Regions from separate parts of the Homo sapiens genome. Here all the other regions are linked to region 2. The links are contacts of gene promoters, found by promoter capture Hi-C in blood cells and fetal thymus (Javierre and others, 2016). All regions are on one chromosome and are shown on one strand. Each heading gives the region's core, a stretch centred on a gene start or on the middle of the fragment in contact. The rest is flanking DNA. Distances are from core to core; before and after follow the strand shown. Region 1 overlaps SCML1 (Scm polycomb group protein like 1). Region 2 holds the start of PHKA2 (phosphorylase kinase regulatory subunit alpha 2). Region 3 holds the start of EIF1AX-AS1 (EIF1AX antisense RNA 1).

Region 1 (3,147 bases), core at 169-2,668, 1.2 Mb before region 2:
TGTGAGATTAGCAAGGCATGTCTATACTTGTAACAGTAGATGGAGACTAAACTCTGTTGGGAGAACGCTGAAGTTTAGGTTTGATAATTTATGATGCTGCCTATTTTTATGTTTGTAATTATAATGTGTAAAATACAATTAAAATGTAGGATTGAAGAATTATATAATCAAAAGGGACCATTTATTTTTAATAATGTAAAGCAATGTTGCATGGAAAATAAGTATTAATGTATTTGCTACTAATTTTATTTACTTTTTTACTCACTGTTGGTTTATGCTGTGTTTGTGTGATTTCAGAAGCGATATGGATATAAAAAGCATTCTTACCGGCTTGTTAAAAAGCTTAAACTCCAGAAAATGAAGAAAAATGAGGTTTACGAGACATTCTCCTACCCTGAAAGTTACAGCCCCACTTTACCAGTGTCAAGGCGTGAGAATAATTCCCCGAGCAACCTTCCAAGGCCATCCTTTTGCATGGAAGAATACCAGCGAGCTGAGCTGGAGGAGGACCCGATCCTCAGCCGCACTCCGAGTCCAGTGCATCCCTCAGATTTCTCTGAGCATAATTGTCAGCCGTATTATGCATCTGATGGTGCAACGTATGGTTCTTCTTCAGGGCTCTGCCTTGGCAACCCTCGGGCTGACAGCATCCACAACACTTACTCAACTGACCATGCTTCTGCAGCACCACCTTCAGGTATGCTGGCCCAGGGAGAGCCCAATTTGGTACATGCCCCTGAGATGATGAGTTACTCAGCTTTGATGGAGAATAGGTATACTGGATCATCTCTCTGCTTCCCTTCTGGTTTGGTGAGTTTGAAATGCCATATTTACAAGTAGCACTATTTGACCTATATTTATCAACATCCTTGATGCAAACTAGTGGAAGCTGTTCGTTTCCTATTTTGAGGGCTGGTTTTAGGTGATATTCAGAATGATGACTAACATTTATTCAATGCATATTATGTGCAAGGCACTGCACCAATCAGCTGACATGCCTCTTCTCCACTTATACTCATAATGACCCCATGGTTTTGGCACATTTATTACGCCATCCCCACGATCACAGAGCTGGTGAGTAGCACTTCTAGAACTCTGCCCCATTGTGCTTTTCCAAATCTTCTATTTTTATTTACCCTTTCCCTAGATAAATAAAAAACACTCCTGATATGGCAAGAGCCCAGATGGTAGGGAAGAAAGGGTATGTTTTTGGCTAATTCACACACACAAAAAGATCAAATTGTGTTGATGGTCCTGGTTGGAGAAACAAATTTTCCTAACTAATTACAAAACCCACTTTAGTCATCACACACTAATTTTAGGGAGTCTAACACTGTGGGTGAGTAAAAGGATACTTGTCAGTACACAAAGAAATTTCAACACAACTTAGTGTAGAGCATAGCTAAAACTTTCTGAAGTATGAGCAGTTAAACTGTCTCATATCTCAGTTATTTTTTAAACATATAAACCTTTGACCAAAATCTCTATTACTATGCAATTAAACATGAAAGAGGAATTAAATAAAATGTTAGTTACTTCTGACCTAGTTCAGCAGAAAATAATCTTGTTTTCTTCACAATGCACATTAGCACTTAAGCCACGAGAGACAGGAATCTAAAAAGTAAAGCGATACTAAAAATAACCTTATTGAATACGTGGGGAAGATTTGATAAAAGTACTAATTTGGTTCTTAAAGATAATGGGGTTGTTATTGAGATTCATTGATTAAAAGGAACAAATTTAAGCAATTATAAAACTGTAAATTTGGAGAATTTCCATTATATTTTGCTAGTAAAATTAACCTAATCTAGATAGATTAAGAGAGAAATTCCTTGAAATACTTGAAGAGAGTCATAGGTTAGGTTAGATTAACCTAATTTTACCCAAGTGACAGATCTTTTGCCATATTTGCCTGTGGCCAAAGAAGACTTGGTTTACTTAGTCTGTTTTGTGATCTTTGAAACTTTAATGTAACTTCTGAACCAGCTTTTGCTATTTAGGGGAGGTCAGATGGGACACTCTTGTGTAGGCATCCCCACATCATCTTTATATAGGCTTTCACTAGATTTTACAGTTGGAGTCTTGACTCCTTGCTAGGAACATCACAGAAGGTTCCAACAAAGAGAGCATTCCTCCTTACCTAACATCTCTTCTTTCAGGATAATGATCAGGTCGAGTGTGATTTGTCTTTTTTTTCTTTTCCCCCTCTCCATTGAAGTTACAAGGTCACCAGTTGAAAATGACGGTTACATAGAGGAAGGAAGCATCACTAAGCACCCTTCAACCTGGTCGGTGGAAGCAGTGGTCCTATTTCTAAAACAAACAGATCCTCTTGCATTATGCCCTCTTGTCGACCTCTTCAGAAGCCATGTAATGTATCTTTTGATCCTGTTTTCCTGCTGTAATGCCTTTGAATGACCTCTGTGCAGGTCTTTCAGTTGGATACTGTGTGAATGGTGGGAGAACCCTATTAGCTGATTTTTCCATATATGAGAAAGCTTATTTTGCCCAAGGTTAGCCTTAAATGGTAGGCTAATGGTCTGTTCTTTAAATGGGTGTAGAAGTGCCTAAAATACAAACTGCCTCAGCTTCTTAAGACATGATGATTCAGCATGGCCACTCAGGTGTACCTCCCCTTTGTAATGACAGATACAAAGATCCTCCCCCTATCTGCTCCCAGCTGGGCACCAGGACCACGAGGAGGAGGGGGTAACCACAAGCTATAACAGGGTGGCCTTCGTTTTATATAACCAGTGATTCAACAACTGATTCCATTTGCCTCGATTATTGATGATTTGTAATGCTAATACCCTCTTGCTATTATCAGACCATTTACAAAGTAATATCCTAGGCCGAAGTTTTGTAAGTTCTAGTTTCTTTAATTTTGAGTTTTACTTAGTAGAAAAAGTATAGAAGGTGCCAAACAAAGGTTGTACTATAAGGGATTTCAGACCTTTTCAGATAGTGTTAAATGAGTAAATAAAATTTTATTTTTTAACTGGAACATATAAAACCAAATCATATGCTTCAGCAGCATAAGTTGATCAATTAAGATAAGGAATTTTAGGAGAATGCTTTGTGACTATGTTTTATTTATTCAGATATTTTCACAGTGTGTCCTAACAAAATTAGTAGCCACATATCTGA
Region 2 (3,054 bases), core at 389-2,888:
TACCTTTCTAAAAGCCAAACATTTCTGATGGGCAAACCACAACTGGTCCAAAGGGTTTCAGATAATGGACTCTGAGGCCAGGTGCAGTGGCTCATGCCTGTAATCCCAGCACTTTTGGGAGGCCGTGGTGAGAGGATGACTTGAAGTCAGGAGGTCGAGACCAGCCTGGCCAACGCAGTGAAACCCCGTCACTACTAAAAATGCAAAAATTAGCTGGGTGTGGTGGCGCACGCCTGTAGTCCCAGCTACTCGGGAGGCTGAGGCAGGATAATCGCTTGAACCCGAGAGGCAGAGGTTTCAGTGAGCCGAGATCGCGCCACTGCACTCCAGCCTAGGAGACAGAGTGAGACCCTGTCTCAAAAACAAACAAACAACAACAAAGAAAACAGATTAAGGGACTTTGGACCTATACCTTATGCATAAATGTTACTGCACTACGATCATTTATTCTTGTAACCCCAGCACTTTGTAGAGTGCTTTGCATATAACAGATACACCACAAATATTTCCTAAGTGAGGAAACAAGGCTAAGAAATTAGTTAAGAAGGGAAAATGGTCAGTGCCTTGGAAATGACCATGGCTCCCAACTTGCAGGTCAGGCCTCTAACCCCTGAATGCCACTTCCTTCGTTGACTTTGAAGGCCCTATAAATAGTTGCTGTTGATTGAGGGCAAGAAACATAGCTGCTGTCTTCACTAGGAATAAAAATAGTTCAGTGGTCTTACACTGATGGACCCACACATAATTTTAGCCCAGGAATACAAAGCATAGCAGGCAAATTCATACCTCGGACCACATGGGCAGTGTCATAGGACCCTGTGAGCTTGGGAGCCTTTGGGTCTGACCTGCTACATGCAGTGACCTTTCTAGCCTCACAATTTTCTTATCTGTAAAATAGCAACCAAAGTAGCCCCTAAGGGCTTCCCAGGTGGGTCTCTACCAAGACAGCTCATGGGAGGGACGGTAGCTGTCGCCCCACACTGCAGAGTCCTGCGTAAACTTCAGGAGCTTCTTCACTCCTGTCTACTGTTCTCATTCAGTGTAGTCTGTCCAAACCCCCCACACCTCTTCTCGTCCAAAAAAAGCAGAGTCAATGCAAAAAGAGGCAGTTTGGACCCGGGCACGGAGGCGGCTCATTCTCATCCTGAACAATGGCCAAAGAATTCTGTGAAAAGTAGCCGTAGCAACAGTTAGGTCCCCTGAATCTTAAGGAGCACGGGGTGGCAATGGGGTGGTAATCACTGGCTAGCAAGGACTAGATTCAAATAGCAAACTCTTAATTGCAAGGTCTCAGGTCACAAGAGGGCCAGACCTGGGAAGGAGAATGAGTTACATGAGAGGGTAGTTCCACGCGTTCCCTGGGGGCGGTCCCTCCTTACCTGGTAACACAGGATGGTTTGCTGCACCAGCCGCGCGTACCCGTCCAAGCGGACCCCGGAATTGCTCCTGCTCCGCATCTCCCCGAGGCTCCCAGGCCGCAGCGCCCGATCTGCCGCGTGGGCGCGGGACGTCGGGGCTGTGGCCTCCAAGCGGGTCTGGTTCCCGGACACTCACAGCCTTAGTCGGTTCTTGGGATGGGACCGGGCCGGAGGAGGTCGAGACTTTTCTAAACGCTAGCCCCAAAGTCCGGTTGGAAAGCAAGCCAACCAGAGCTCCGCGCGGCGGGGAGGCGCGGGGGCGGGGACGGGGGCTGGAGCGACGAAGGTCCCGCCTCGGCCAGGCCTGCTGGGCTCCCGACGCTCGCGGGAGCAGCGGGAAACCAGGTTCCGGGAGTGGGGCGAGGACGCCCCTGCCAAGCCCCTTTTACGTCCCGGCGGTCGCGAGGAGGTCCCCCGGGCGCGAAGAAGACGCCAGCCCACCCCAGCCGCCGGGGAGATCGCCCAGGCCGCGCTCAGCCCCGCCCCTGGCTCTGCCCCCGCCGCGGAGCGGAACCCTCCAAGTCGCGGCCTGAGGAGGAAGGAAAAGGGGGCGGCCCGGGAGAGCCGCTGCGAAATCAGCAACGGGCGGGAACCAGGTTGCCTCCCTGAGTCCCTTCTCTCCCCGGCCGGCTGCCAACCACAGCCAAGGCCAGAGAAACAGGCCCTTCTGCCGCGGCCACCTGGGCGCCTTGGACCCGCCCTCCGGACTCGCCCCCGCCCCTGCCGCGGAGTGGAACGTTTGGAACCCTGAGGGGCACAGGTAAGGGGGCGGCCCCGCCCCGCGCCCTGGAACGACCTCACGGCCCCGCCCACATCCCCGCCCCTGGCCCCACCTCCGCCGCAGAGCGGAACCCTCAGAGTCGCGGCCTCGGGGGGGACGAAAAAGGAGGCGGCCCGTGGGAGTCTAGGGGAACCCGGCTTCGGGCGGCGGACGAGTTGGCTTTCCTGCGTGGTAGTGTGGAGCCCCCCGAGACGGGTGCCAGTCCCACTCGAGGCCGGAGAAAGAGGGCCGCCTACCGCGGCCGCCTGGGCACCCCTCTGAGGGCCAAGATTGTAGTCCCACCTCTGGCCCCGTCTCCGCCGCCTAGCGGAACTGGAGTAGCGGGACCCAGCCCGGAAGAAAAAGGGGGAAGGCCCGGAGAGGTGCCCCAGCGACACCTCTGGCGCCTGTGACCCCGCCCCTAGCCACTTGGGCGCCGCTTCCTCGGGCAGGTTCGCAGTTCATCTCCCACGGGTCTACAGCTTGAAACTTGGCATTCATTATAATGTTTCGTGGCTGCTGATAACCTACAGTTCACAATCTTCGGCCTGGTATTCATTGTCCACCAAAATCTGGCCCACATAGGAATTTACTGGACAGCTAGACTAATGCAATCAATTTCCGCAAGCTCTTTTCCAGTCTCCATGCATTTACTCTATGCTTGACCCCTTCGGCCCTTCTTCCTCCTCCTTGACTAACTGAAGCCTATCTTTCCCTTAACGGCCAGCTCAGCTCCTCTATTAGCCTTCCCCATTTTCTGAATTTCTGTAGCCATTGGTTTAGTAAGAGCTTAGGACTTAGAGTCAGTTCATTTTGAGTTCAAATGTCAGTTCTGTCATTTACAAGTCGTATGACCTTTGGCATCCCGTTTTACAT
Region 3 (3,481 bases), core at 819-3,318, 1.2 Mb after region 2:
TCCCAGTACTTTGGGAGGTCATGGTGGGAGAATCACTTGAGCCCAGGAGTTCGAGAATAGCCAGGGCAACATATGAAGACCTCATCTCTATACAGTTTTTTTTTTTTTTTTTTTTTTTTTTTTGAGACAGAGTCTCCCTCTGTCACCCAGGCTGGAGTGCAGTGGTGTGATCTCGGCTCACTGCAACCTCCGCCTCCCAGGTTCAAACAATTCTCCTGCCTCAGCCTCCTGAGTAGCTGGGATTACAGGCACGTGCCACCACACCCAGCTAATTTTTGTAATTTTAGTAGAGACGGGGTTTCATCATGTTGGTCAGGCTGGTCTCGAACTCCTGACCTCGTGATCCGCCCGCCTTGGCCTCCCAAAGTGCTGGGATTACAGACGTGAGCCACTGCGCCCAGCCTAAAAAAATTTTTAAAATTAGCCAGACGTGGTGGTGTGTGCCTGTAGTCCCAAATACTCGGGAGGCTGAAGTGGAAGGACTGCTTCAGCCCAGGAGGTCATGGCTGCAGTGGGCTGTAATCGTGCCACCACACTTCACCCTGGGCGATGGGCAAGACGCTGTCTCAAAAAAATAAAGTCCCCAGCTAAAAAAGAAAGGATGTTATTTTAAAAAGCGTAATTTATGAAAACACTTACCCTGACCATCCTCTTTGAATACCAGTTCTCTTTTTTCAGATTCATTCTCATTCTTACCCCTGCGTCTGTTTTTACCTCCTTTACCTGATGGTTTAAAAAAAAGAAAAGGAGGTAAATGACATTAATTATCTGTAAAACAGTATGAAATAAAATGAAATTAAGGCTTATAAAACCATTTTTTAAAAGATCACTTAAATTAAAAAATTCATCTATTTTAGCTACACAATCATATTAAATTTACAATCTCCAATCCCAACATTAACACATTATCACCTCCCTACCCTTCTTGGAATTTCCTTTGGGGATTTTTCTGACATAAAATACACATAAATAGCAGATATTATGTTAAAAAATATAGAAAAACATTTCACTTTAGCACCCATCCTTTTGAAATAAAAATGCAATTCTATACATATTCTTCTAAGCGGAAATCTTGGGTGTCTTCTAAAGCCAGGCCCTATGCAAGGAACCCGATACTTTCAAAATTAAGTGAAGACAGTGTCTGGACAGAGAACTGTGGTTTTCAAACTTTTGGTAGCAGAGTACCATAAATATTGAAATCTCACTGGGTGCAGTGGTGTGCGCCTAGGGTCTCAGCTACTCAGGAGGCTCAGGTGGGAGGATCACTTGAGCAAGCCCAGGAGGTTCCAGGCTAGCCTGGGCAACATAGCGAGACACTGTCTCTTAAAAAATAAAGAAGATCTGTTCGGTACCCAATTTACTTTCTTTTATAATGCTGGTCCCTACTCAACATCCCTGTTTCTATTATATGACCCCAGTGACCATGCTCTTAACCACTATGCAATAATTCTGCCCATTTACTTGTCACAATCACCCCATGAGGTCATAACATTCATTTATTCCCAGTTTACCCATGAGTTCCCTGAAGCTCAGAGAAGTTAAGTAAGTCGCTTAGCTTCAGTGAGTAAATCAGTTCACTGATTACAGTCAGTAAGCTGGGGTGACCAAAGTCACAATGTTTTTTTTGCCCCTAGCCCCCACATAAGCTTACCTCTCCACAGCATTTTGCTCCCATTCCAGAAAGGAAACCACATTGGCAGCCATTTCCAAAAGGCAGGAAAAAGGCTGTAAGTGGTAATGACCCTAAGAGACTCATGGGAAGAGCTTGGAAGCAGCAAAAAAAAATGGAGGACACTTAAATTAGGTCATGAAAAGTACCATTCCTCTAAGTAAGATAACTAAGAACTGATTGGTTTCAGACAGTACAGGAATGATAAACACCAAACTCAGCCTGGTGATTACCTCCAAAAAGAGAGTAAAAGGTGATTAGGGCTTTACCTCAATCTGCGCTGTAATTCTTAAATTCAGAGTAATGGGTTCCCAGGTATATCATGTTAGCTGTATTTTTTGTATGCCTCAAATGTTATTTAAGAAAAGACTAATTACTTGTCAATTTACCAGAATTAACCATACCCGGATCACTCCCCTTTGTATTTTATTGCCATGTAATGGGATGTTCTTTAAATTCTCTGTTGAATGAATGAGACTAGGTCTGAGTGTACAACAATTAAAGTGACATCAACATTCTTTAAACCAGAGTTGTTTTGGAGAAATTCCCAGAGAGGCTCTTTCTTAAGACATGAGGCTAGGGAACTAGATGTGATTTAGTGTAGAAGTCCTATCCCCTTGGAACCAAAGCAGAACCTATTATTCACTAAGGGTGGAGTCGACAGGAGGTAGGTGACTTAAACCAACAAATATTTATTAAGCATCTACTAATTGTCAAGTGCTGGCAATCCAATGAGATTAAGACAGATACTATTCCTGCCTTGTAGAGCTTACAGCCTGGTGGAAGAATTGGAAATCTTATTACTAGAAATAAAGGTGAGAATAAGATGGAAGTGATCCCCTTACCACCTCAGAGAGAATAAAGGATTATACAGAAGAAAACTGTAAGACTTTAAAATTTTTTGTTTATAACTCCATCTTTTCCAAAATAATGAGCAGTGACTGCACCAACTTGTGCACAGAACACCTCGACCAAGTACCCTAAGGGATAAAGTAATAAGTGACAGCTACAAAGAGGAAATGTGGTAGAATCCCTGGAGCCAGCTGTCAAGTAGAAAAGAGAGCAGAAGTAGGCCTGTGTCAGGGGAGGGTTTCCTCTAGAATGAATAATCAAAGGAGACTACTTACGGACTATGAAGTATGCTCCTCTCCTGTAGGAAAATACAGTATTTTCCCTATATTTACTTGCACAATTTTCTTCAAGTTATACGGCTATTAAAAATGACAGGAACACTGTAAATCTATAAAAGTAATTTCTTTAGGAGTGTTCTGTTTTTTGTTTTTGTTTTTTTTTTTTTAAGATTAGGCCTTCCGTTTTGGAAATCCCAAATAAAGTTATCCTCAAGTCTGATCATTTGTGAACGCTTAGCCTCAGAATGGAGGACACTTAAATTAGGTCTTTATTCTCACAACATATGCATCATCTGAAGCAAAAGTAGAAAACTTGGCTCAATATGGAATAAGTCTTCAGCAAACAAACATAAGCTATATCCTGTAAAGGGATGGAGAGAGTAAATCTCTAGAGGTGAGCCTTAGAAATGTATCAAGGTTTCACCCACTGTTCACAAGGGACAGCGAGTAGCCTCAACAATACTGAACTGTCCATAAAGAAACCCATGCAGGAGTACCTGGTGCTCACGAATGCAGACAGCACTCTGAAAGTTCAGAACGGCTTCCAGGGATTATAACCCCTCATGCCCGGGAAGGCCAAAGGGGCCTATCTACTAAACCTAGGCCGCCCCGGGGAAGGTTCCCGCCACCGTCCCCACCGAGCAGCGGTCAGTCTGGCGCGAATCAGGAGCAAAAGCCCACA

What was found. The method cuts DNA at HindIII sites, captures the fragments that hold promoters and counts their contacts. A CHiCAGO score of 5 or more calls a contact.
Region 1: a contact is called between a fragment that was not itself captured here and the fragment with the promoter of PHKA2 in region 2, in 1 of 17 cell types (total B cells). The highest score is 6.1, in total B cells.
Region 3: the fragment with the promoter of EIF1AX-AS1 here is called in contact with the fragment with the promoter of PHKA2 in region 2 in 1 of 17 cell types (neutrophils); the score reaches 10.5 in neutrophils.

Annotation. Positions count from the first base shown.
Region 1 is chrX:17,749,597-17,752,743 of GRCh38, forward strand. SCML1 (Scm polycomb group protein like 1) reads left to right here. Exons shown (of 8, transcript NM_001037540.3): 6 at 298-697; 7 at 2,219-2,370. Among named protein-coding and RNA genes, the nearest start is that of SCML1, 14 kb to the left of the region's middle. RefSeq lists an enhancer at 189-1,388. The HindIII fragment of the contact is 2,156 bases long and covers 341-2,496 here.
Region 2 is chrX:18,982,476-18,985,529 of GRCh38, forward strand. It overlaps PHKA2 (phosphorylase kinase regulatory subunit alpha 2), which reads right to left and starts at 1,639. Exons shown (of 33, transcript NM_000292.3): 1 at 1,380-1,639. The coding sequence starts at 1,457. RefSeq lists enhancers at 1,441-1,941, 1,942-2,442, 2,424-2,473 and a silencer at 1,634-2,323. The HindIII fragment of the contact is 8,902 bases long and covers 1-3,054 here.
Region 3 is chrX:20,137,900-20,141,380 of GRCh38, forward strand. EIF1AX-AS1 (EIF1AX antisense RNA 1) reads left to right here and starts at 2,069. Exons shown (of 2, transcript NR_046592.2): 1 at 2,069-2,336; 2 at 2,436-2,545. EIF1AX (eukaryotic translation initiation factor 1A X-linked) reads right to left here. Exons shown (of 7, transcript NM_001412.4): 2 at 640-723. RefSeq lists an enhancer at 3,181-3,340. The HindIII fragment of the contact is 4,524 bases long and covers 1,645-3,481 here.